Linked DNA regions of Homo sapiens: region 1 is linked to region 2. The links are contacts of gene promoters, found by promoter capture Hi-C in human tissues and cell types (Jung and others, 2019). All regions are on one chromosome and are shown on one strand. The core of a region is centred on a gene start or on the middle of the fragment in contact, and the rest is flanking DNA. Distances in the headings are between cores, read along the strand shown. Region 1 overlaps SSH2 (slingshot protein phosphatase 2). Region 2 holds the start of SLC6A4 (solute carrier family 6 member 4).

Region 1 (4,897 bases), core at 677-3,176, 550 kb after region 2:
CTTGAGAAACAAGAATGTTTAGTGAATGTCTTTGGTCGTGTGTTTCCAATTTACCATTATTCCATACCTTCATCTCATCTTTAGATAGTCACAATATAAAGCAAGTGGTTTCAAAGTTACATTTCCATGGAAAAAAAGCTGCCTTTTTATTTCTCTTTTTGAGACAGCGTCTCGCTCTGCTGCCCAGGCTGAAGTGCCGTGATGCAGTCACAGCTCACTACGGCCTCAAATTCCTCCTGGGCTCTAGGAATCCTTCCACCTCAGCCTCCTAAGTAGCTAGAAGTACAGGCATGCACCACCATACCCAGCTATTTGGTCTTTTTTTTTTTTTTTTCCTTATTTTTCTGGAGAGAAGATTTCCTTATGTTGGCCAGGCTGGTCTTGAATTCTTGGGCTTAAGCAATCCTCCCACTTCGGCTTCCCAAAGTGCTGGGATTACAGGCATGAGCCTTGCACCTGGCCTACTCTATTGTAGTCAGTAATGATTCACTTTGGTGATTCTAGGGCACCTACCCTTTGTGGTAGTATACCAGTAGTCCCAGATACAAAGAGATCCCACTTAAACTACAGTCTGTTTTGTTTAAACCTTGCTTTTACCAAATGCTATGCCTCCTTTTTCCTTCTATTGAGTTAAAAAGGATGGTGGGCGGGGCGGGGATGGGGTGGTACGGGATGGCTCCTTAAACTCAAAGCAGAACTTTTTATGTACCTTTGGCTTTAGCTGTACTTTACATTCTATGATGAAAGATGACACACAACACCTGGCCTTTTCGTGTGTCCTTAAGGTTTGTTGCTTTCCTTTTTTATTTTTCCCACTTTTTCTGGAGAAACCTTCGGAAGACTTTGGAATGTGGCTGCTAAGCAGATCTTTACGCTGTGGATAATTAGCCTCAGGAAATCCTGCCAGATGTCTCAAAGCATTGACTTCCTGGTTCAGGATTAGAATGGAACTATGGGGTAGCTAGGGGTGTGACCCAGGCCTAGGGAAATTTAGCCACAAAGAGAGGAGGAGCCTGGGAATGATTCTAATTTTCCTGATGTTGAGGGGAAAAAATCACTTTGTCACTAGAAAGTTTCCCAAACCAATGTTTACCTTATTCCTATATAGAAGTCAACCTGAAAATGACTTGGGGGTTCACAGGAATTCCCAAAGCCAAAGTTATTAGCTTGTATACCACTTAACAGCATTTAATTGTAGGCTCTGAATTTACACAGGCTTGTAAACCAGATTTAGGAAGATTTCTCCTGCATGGTTTTAACTTCTGATTAAGCAACAGAGCTTTCAGTAAGCATTTTCCTATAACAGCACCTACCTTGTTTACATTCATTAGGATTTTAGGACCTCTAATTTAGGTTTTTAATCTTTCTAGATCTGTGTTGTCCAGTATAGTAGCCACTAACCATATGTGCCCCTTCCTTCCTTCTTGCCTGCCTGCCTTCCTTCCTTCTTTCATCTTCCTTCCTTTTCTCTTCTCTTCTTTTCTTTTTTCCTTTTTGTGAAGAACACAGTCTCTCTGTGTTGCCCAGGCTGGTCTCAACTCCTGAGCTCCTGCCTCTGCCTTCCTGAGTGCTGGGATTATAGGCATGAGCCACTGCATACAGCATGCACGTGTCTTTTTAAATAGATTAAAATTAAATGAAATTTCAATTCCTCAGTTCTAACTAGTCACATTTCAAGTATTCAGTAACCGTATGTGCTAGTGGCTATCGTATTAGACAGTACATGTATAGAACATTTTCCATTCTTGCAGAAAGTTCAGTTGGACAGCACTGTTCTAGCTCATATTTCCTTTGTTCAGTTCTCCCTGACCCCCTCCCTTGAAAACCCTATAAAACAGGAACAGGAACCTCATGAAGCTTCAATTGAATCTTCCCCTAGAGACAGAAGACAATAACTGCAGATTCTCCTGACCCAGAATATGAGCAAGCACATGTCTAATCATTTCTCTTTCACTTTGTCCTAAACTTTACCAGAAAGAATGCATATTAATATAGGTATCCAGTAGTTTATACTCAGTAAATTACATCTATCTTTTGCCAATGGCCCTGTCTGAATCATATCTGACCAGTGTCACTAGCCAAAGGAAATTATAGTTTATAGAAGACAAACTTAAAACATGAAAAGCTAGAAACTAGTTTTCATTCTGTTTGCTAAACTTGCTATTATGAAATTCCCATACATCCTCTGCTTTAATGAGTTCCTTGGACAGTAAGAAGTCTCAGATGCTCAGGTAATCTAAAATCATTTCTGTCTCAGTTGTTGTTGAAGGAATTTGAATTTGTATCATTTCATATCTGAGAATGTAAATGTTAATGCTTCAAAATAGTATTAAGCCAAAGTGGAACCCAGATTATGACAAGTACAAATAGTTCTTAATAATACGTTGCAGCCAATTCATTTAGCCCATTTACAAGTTCTTTGAGTATTATGTTATATTTTAATAATTTTTTAAATATGCAGCATAATCTTGGTTTCTAAAGTGTAACATATTTTAAGTTATAAAATAATAGAGCTTCATGGTTTTTTGGGGTTTTTTTTTTCCATTTCTTTTTGTACCCCTAACACCTTGAAATGTCTGGTACATAGTAGGCACTAAATAAATTTTTATTGAATGAATTGAATATTTACTAAAATAAGTAGTTATACTTAAATGGAGAAAAATCTTGAGAGACTGAGGTAACCTGGATAAAAATACCAAGCGTGCCTTATTCAGTCCTTTCCTTCCTGTTGCGTGAAAAAGCTACTTTTTTTTTTTTTTTTTTTTTTTTTTTTTTTGAGACAGTCTCACTCTGTGGCCAGGCTGGAGTACAGTGGTGCAATCTCAGCTCACTGCAACCTCCGTCTCCTGGGTTCAAGCGATTCTCCTGCCTCAGCCTCCCAAGCAGCTGGGACTACAGGCGCACACCACCATGCCCAGCTAATTTTTGTATTTTTAGTAGACGGGGTTTCACCATGTTGACCAGGATGGTCTCTATCTCGACCTCGTGATCCGCCCGCCTCTGCTTCCCAAAGTGCTGGGATTACAGGCACCACGCCCTGCTGAAAAAGCTACTTCTTAATGTAAAAAAGCACTCTGGCCTGAATACAAGCCAAAAATGTAATGTCGATTCCTGTATATCAATGTCACTTGTCCAAAGGTTAACCAAAATCTGGTCACAAGCTTATAGATCACACTCTTTTGCAGCTTCTGTATCTTTTTATATAGTTAATTTCTAGATTTGTCATTGGGCTACCAACCCACCATATTTATACTCAAAATTATACTTGTTGCTAAGAACCTGGCTAAGCACTCACTAAATACAAAACAAAAAGCTACTGTAAAACTATCCCCACTTCATCTTGGGAAGCCGTTTTCAAAACAAATTTTTTTGTGCGCTCATCTCATCTACTCAACAAAACTTGTGGTAGAGCTGTCTTGCTCCTGGACTCTGGCATGGTAGCTGTGTTTCTGTTGTTCAGGTCCAGGTTCTAATGTGGATAAGCTGTTTCAGTCTTGATTTGAATCTCCTGAGCTCTGGAATCACTCTTTTTTTTTTTTTTTTTTTTTTTTTTTTTGAGAGGGAGTCTTGCTGTGTCTCCCAGGCTGGAGTGCAATGGCGCAAATCTCAGCTCACTGCAACTTCCACCTCCCAGGTTCAAGTGATTCTCCTGCCTCAGCCTCCCGAGTAGCTGGGATTACAGGTGTCTGTCTGCCCCTGCACCCAGCTAATTTTTGTATTTTTAGTGTAGAGATGGAGTTTCGCCATGTTGGCCAGGCTGGTCTTGAACTCCTGACCTCGGCCTCCCAAAGTGCTGGGATTACAGGCATGAGTCACCGTGCCTGGCCTGGAATCACTCTTAAGGTGTTAAGCAGCACAGGCCAGCAAGTGTAGTGGAAAGCCCAACTAAGGGCTAGCCTCCTTTAACCCTGCAGTGACTAACAGTTAAAGTTTGGTATTCATTATGTTGTTTTTAAAGCATAATGGTTTCCCCTTCCCCCAATCACTTTCAGATATATTAGAGCACCCATTACAGATTCATATTCAACATTTGTTTTACAGGACAGTATATTCACATATATTGTTTTATTTTAAGTATGTTATGTCTTTATACCTATATCTATGAGAATAGGTTTTATTATTCACAGTTCAAGATGAAGAAATTAAGGCTGAGAGAGGTTAAATAATTTGTTTAAAAAAAAGTTGTAATACTGAAGGAAATCAATCCCAGATCTTTTGGCATAGTAGATGTTCAATAAATGGTAATGACTATTACATTTTAGGCACTTAGACACTATTTTACTCTTTTATTTGTTATTTAATCTTCAAAACAGTACAATGAAGAAGATATTTTTATCCCAGTTTTACAAATGAAGAAATTAAGGCACAAGACAGTTAAGTAATTTGCCTAAGATTATACAGTTGCTGGGCGCGGTGGCTCACGCCTGTAATCCCAGCACTTTGGGAGGCCAAGGCGGGTGGATCACCTGAGGTTGGGAGTTCAAGACCAGCCTGACCAATATGGAGAAACCCCATCTCTACTAAAAATACAAAATTAGCTGGGCGTGGTAGTGCATGCCTGTAATCCCAGCTACTCAGGAGGCTGAGACAGGAGAATCGCTTGAACCAGGAGGTGGAGGTTGCAGTGAGCCGATATCACACCATTGCACTCCAGCCTGGGCAACAAGAGTGAAACTCCATCTTAAAAATAAAAAAAAAAATAAAAATAAATTTTAAAAAAAGATTATACAGTTAGTGCAAGAAACCAGGTTCCAGAGCCCATAATCATACTGTGAACCCAGGTTCCAGAGCTCTTAACCATACTGTGCTTTTCCACAGTATGGTTATGCCAGATTCTTTCTAGTACACCATGCTTCCGCTCTAGATAGATTGGCATGGAGCATCATGGAAGCCTTTC
Region 2 (4,487 bases), core at 1,988-4,487:
AAGCTTCGCAGGTGCCTGCTGGGTTTCTGGCTTGCATCTCTTCCCTGCGGCCACCAGCTGACGCCTGCATTCACATTCTAAGGAACCCGTCTGTCCCAACCACCACGACAACCCCCTTCCCCCCTACTCTTACCTGCAGCCCACGCAGGTCACAGCCATTAGATCCTTCCCCTGAAGCGCTGCTTCCCTCCTGCCGCACTCAGGGCTCCCTCCTGCCTTCCATGCCCAGGACAGGGCCTCCCGGCCTCTCCAGGTCTCTGGAGCAGAGAGGTTGTGCCTTCCTCATGCGGTCAGGCTCAGGCTGGGAAGGAGCGGCCCAGAGGCGGGGGGAGGCACGGGTGCGGGGCTGCCTCTTCCCCGGTAGTGGACGCTGAAGCCTGTCCACCTGAATTGGAGGCGGGGCGGGGCAGTCGACTGACCGCCAGGCAGGGGAGCAGGGCGCGGGCTCAGAGGGAGGGAGTGGGAGGCCGAGGAAGGACAAGGTGCTTGTGGCGATGAGTATCAGAAGGCAGAGCGGAGCTGCTCAAGAGAGGCTGGCTCTGTGGAGGTGAGGACCTGCAGGTGGGCCTGGCCTCTCTGTGGGATGGTACCCAGGGCAGGAGGAAGAGAAACACCTGTTTAGAGAGAGGGGGAGGGTCTGGGCCAGTTGTGTGCGGACTCTGCCATGGAGGCAGGGGGAACCAGGGCGGGGCCGTCTGTGTAATTCTAATGTCATTTGCTAATGGTGGTTGCCCGCAGCTGGGGAGCAAGAGGGGAGGAGATGGGACCACCCGGCCAGAGAGAGGAGGGGTCGAAGGCCCCCTTGGAGGAAGGGCCCAGCGCACAGGGCCTGCAAGGAGTTGGCCCCTTCCCCACCCACAGCTGGGCAGTGCCCACTGAGATCATCCTCCCTACTTCACAAACAGAGACACAAAGGCCAGACAGCTTGAGGTTAAGGAGCTCGGTCAAGCCCACACCACAGTACAGGGTGGGGGCCGGGATTTGACCCAGGTCCACAGGGTGCCCACTCTCTAGGCAGCACCTGCACAGAACAGGGCAGTGCCATAGGGAGGGGCTGCGCGCTGGGCAGGAATGCATCTTCGGCTAGAAAGAGTCTAGAAGGAAGATCAGAAGTGGCGAGACTGCACAATTAAGAAGTGCTAAGAAGTCACACTGGACAGACCTGGTCTTGGTAGCCAAGCGCTGAAGTCACCCCTGCAGCCGTCCTCCGCTTTGGCGCCTCTTCCCAGCGTCCCTGCCCCCCTCCTTTGGCCCTCCTGGAAAGGACACTTTGCGTTTTCTGTTGCCCTTGCCTATACAGCACAAACATGCTCATTTAAGAAGTGGAACGTGGGAGGCAGCAGACAACTGTGTTCATCTGAAAGGAGGAGGCCCCACTCCCGTGCAGGCGCTGCCCCTGGGGGTGAAATTCCCAAGCTTGTTGGGGATTCTCCCGCCTGGCGTTGCCGCTCTGAATGCCAGCACCTAACCCCTAATGTCCCTACTGCAGCCCTCCCAGCATCCCCCCTGCAACCTCCCAGCAACTCCCTGTACCCCTCCTAGGATCGCTCCTGCATCCCCCATTATCCCCCCCTTCACCCCTCGCGGCATCCCCCCTGCACCCCCAGCATCCCCCCTGCAGCCCCCCCAGCATCTCCCCTGCACCCCCAGCATCCCCCCTGCAGCCCTTCCAGCATCCCCCTGCACCTCTCCCAGGATCTCCCCTGCAACCCCCATTATCCCCCCTGCACCCCTCGCAGTATCCCCCCTGCACCCCCCAGCATCCCCCCATGCACCCCCGGCATCCCCCCTGCACCCCTCCAGCATTCTCCTTGCACCCTACCAGTATTCCCCCGCATCCCGGCCTCCAAGCCTCCCGCCCACCTTGCGGTCCCCGCCCTGGCGTCTAGGTGGCACCAGAATCCCGCGCGGACTCCACCCGCTGGGAGCTGCCCTCGCTTGCCCGTGGTTGTCCAGCTCAGTCCCTCTAGACGCTCAGCCCAACCGGCCGCACAGTTTTCAGGGGTCAGTTCCTCCAAGTACAAGGGGCGGTGGCTTCTCTGGAGCTGCAAACTTGTCACTGCTATTTCCTTTCGGTCTTCTACTTCCTATCGTTCCTGGCCTCCTCTTGGGGAGAGGTAGAGCCCTCTCCTTTCCGCCTCAGGGACAACCCAAAGCAAGTACTGCATGTGCCCTTTTTAAAGTTTTAAATAATTTTAGCAAAAAGGATATTAACATTAAATCAATTTTTAAACTTTTTGAAAAAATTATCAAAACTACATGCACATGGTTCAAAACAATAGGCTCCTGCTGGGCCCTTTCAGATAATTCAAATTGTCACCAGGTTGGAGTGCAGTGGTTCGATCACGGCTCACTGCAGCCTCGACCTCCCGGGCTCAGCTGATCCTCCACCTCAGCCTCCTGAGTAGCTGGGAACACAAGCGCGAGCAACCACGCCCGGCTAATTAAAAAAATTTTTTTTCTAGAGATGGGGTCTTGCTGTGTTGCCCAGGCTGGTCTTGAATTCCTGGGCTCAAGCAATCCTCCCGCCTCAGCCTCCCAAAGCACTGTGCTCCTTTTTGACGCAGCTTTGAACTGTAGCTGGTTAACAAAATGAGAACCAGTTCTTCATTCCTTCATTGTGGAAGTCTTTATTGTGAGACTCTGGGGACGGAGAGGAATTAGACAAGGGCCTCTAAGCTGAGCTCACATCCCAGCCGGTCAGTCAGATAAACGCATGGGTATCGAGTACTGCTAGGTCCCAGGAAGAAAGAGAGAGCAGCTTTCGGGATGGGGACGATGGGGAGGTGTCCGAGGTCAAGAGAAAGCGGCACGAGCAGACCCCTGTGTGCCGTCCTGTGGGCGCGGGGCGGCAGGGGAGGCGCACACCTGCTCCTTTGTGCAGCCTCCCCCCTCCCGCAAAGTTAAAGAGCAGGAAAGTCAGGATTCCTCGCTCGGCCCTGCCCTGCCGGCTGCTCCGCGCTCCGCTCCTCCCTGCGAGCGTGTGTGTGTGTCGGGGGTCCCTCCCCTCCTGGCTCTGGGGTCGGGCGCGCACCCCGCCCCGTAGCGCGGCCCCTCCCTGGCGAGCGCAACCCCATCCAGCGGGAGCGCGGAGCCGCGGCCGCGGGGAAGCATTAAGTTTATTCGCCTCAAAGTGACGCAAAAATTCTTCAAGAGCTCTTTGGCGGCGGCTATCTAGAGATCAGACCATGTGAGGGCCCGCGGGTACAAATACGGCCGCGCCGGCGCCCCTCCGCACAGCCAGCGCCGCCGGGTGCCTCGAGGGCGCGAGGCCAGCCCGCCTGCCCAGCCCGGGACCAGCCTCCCCGCGCAGCCTGGCAGGTGGGTCCGCTTTTCCTCTCCGCCTCGAACCCACGTTTCTTTCCAGACCTTCTTCCCCGCCTCGGGGAGGGGGATAGAACCGCTGCGCCCCACCGCCCTGCGAGGAGGCGAGGAGGTGCATGCGCCCCAGCGGTGGGCGCCGGATCCTGCCCCTGCGCCCTCCACGCTCAGCAAGAGCCAGAGCTGAAGCTGACCGGCCAGAGTGGGAGACGAGGAACGTGGAGTGCTCGAAGTGGGCGGGCGTAGGGGGCTCCTTTGTCTATTGTTGCAGGGGCTTTGCAACCTCTTGAGGACCCGTGAAAGACCCCTTAAAGAGGGTCTTGAGCAAAGTGCTGTCCTGCGCTTTGGGAAGAGTTGCTTGCTTTCGTTTCAACCCATGGTTTATGTTTGATCTTTACTTTGCTGTCATCGCGTGCAGGTGGCTTTATGCAAAGGGAGAGTTCTGGTTGACACAAATGCCCAGACAGCTAGAGAAATCTCTGAGTGGCGCCTAAGTGGGCCGAGTCTCCGTGCGCTTGGGTGGTTTCACTGTCAGAGCTGAGGCGCTCTCAGACACCTCACAGGCCATTCAGAATGTATGTGAAACTCCAACTCCAACGACTGTGCTACGTGGTTGAAGGATATAACCATCATTTGCTTGAAAATTGTGTACATTCAAACTTGTTCTTGAAAAAAAGCTCTCTGGAGCTCAAGAGTGGATTTGGGTCTTGGGCTAAGGAGCAGATTTTCTTCTGAACTGGGGCTTTTGCATATTGAATTGTTCCTTTTCCATTTGGGACTCTGAAGAATTTGAGAGGGGTAGAATTTCTGAATCAGACATTACAAAGACTTTGTGTATGTATTTTTACCATCAGTTTTGTCCAGAAAAGTGAACCTGGTCAATGGATTATTTATGAGCCTGCTAGCTAACTCTCATCATAGGAAGACGAGAGCAAATATTTAATGTGTTTTGCCTTCAGTTACATAGGAAAAATGTCTAAGAAGGTGACATTGGGACTTGTGTTTAATGAAACAGAGAACTGTGGGCAGCGTCAGTGTTGGGTTTTTAGGAGCGTAGGGAGCACACAGCTTTGACTCTTTGTCCCATTACTTGCTTCTGTGTGAAGCCACTGAGGCCCCAGGGTTCGGGTTTTCCTGCCACGCACTCTGGGGTGGCAGTGACCGTT

The links. The method cuts DNA at HindIII sites, captures the fragments that hold promoters and counts their contacts. A contact is called where the count stands out against the background at its distance.
Region 1: a fragment that was not itself captured here is called in contact with the fragment with the promoter of SLC6A4 in region 2 in 1 of the 25 tissues and cell types used here (thymus).

The regions. Positions count from the first base shown.
Region 1 is chr17:29,679,211-29,684,107 of GRCh38, reverse strand. The region is part of intron 6 of SSH2 (slingshot protein phosphatase 2); the gene reads left to right. Among named protein-coding and RNA genes, the nearest start is that of SSH2-AS1, 42 kb to the right of the region's middle. The HindIII fragment of the contact is 6,367 bases long and covers 1-4,897 here.
Region 2 is chr17:30,234,447-30,238,933 of GRCh38, reverse strand. It overlaps SLC6A4 (solute carrier family 6 member 4), which reads left to right and starts at 3,237. Exons shown (of 15, transcript NM_001045.6): 1 at 3,237-3,321. LOC105371720 (a long non-coding RNA gene) reads right to left here and starts at 1,436. Exons shown (of 3, transcript XR_007065698.1): 1 at 1,163-1,436; 2 at 134-614. RefSeq lists an enhancer at 1-605, cis regulatory regions at 1,601-1,643, 1,427-1,668, 2,057-2,096, 1,973-2,797, 1,669-3,158 and 2 more, a silencer at 2,821-3,003 and promoters at 2,504-3,258, 1,413-3,258, 1,439-3,263, 3,159-3,453, 1,669-3,453 and 1 more. The HindIII fragment of the contact is 6,948 bases long and covers 711-4,487 here.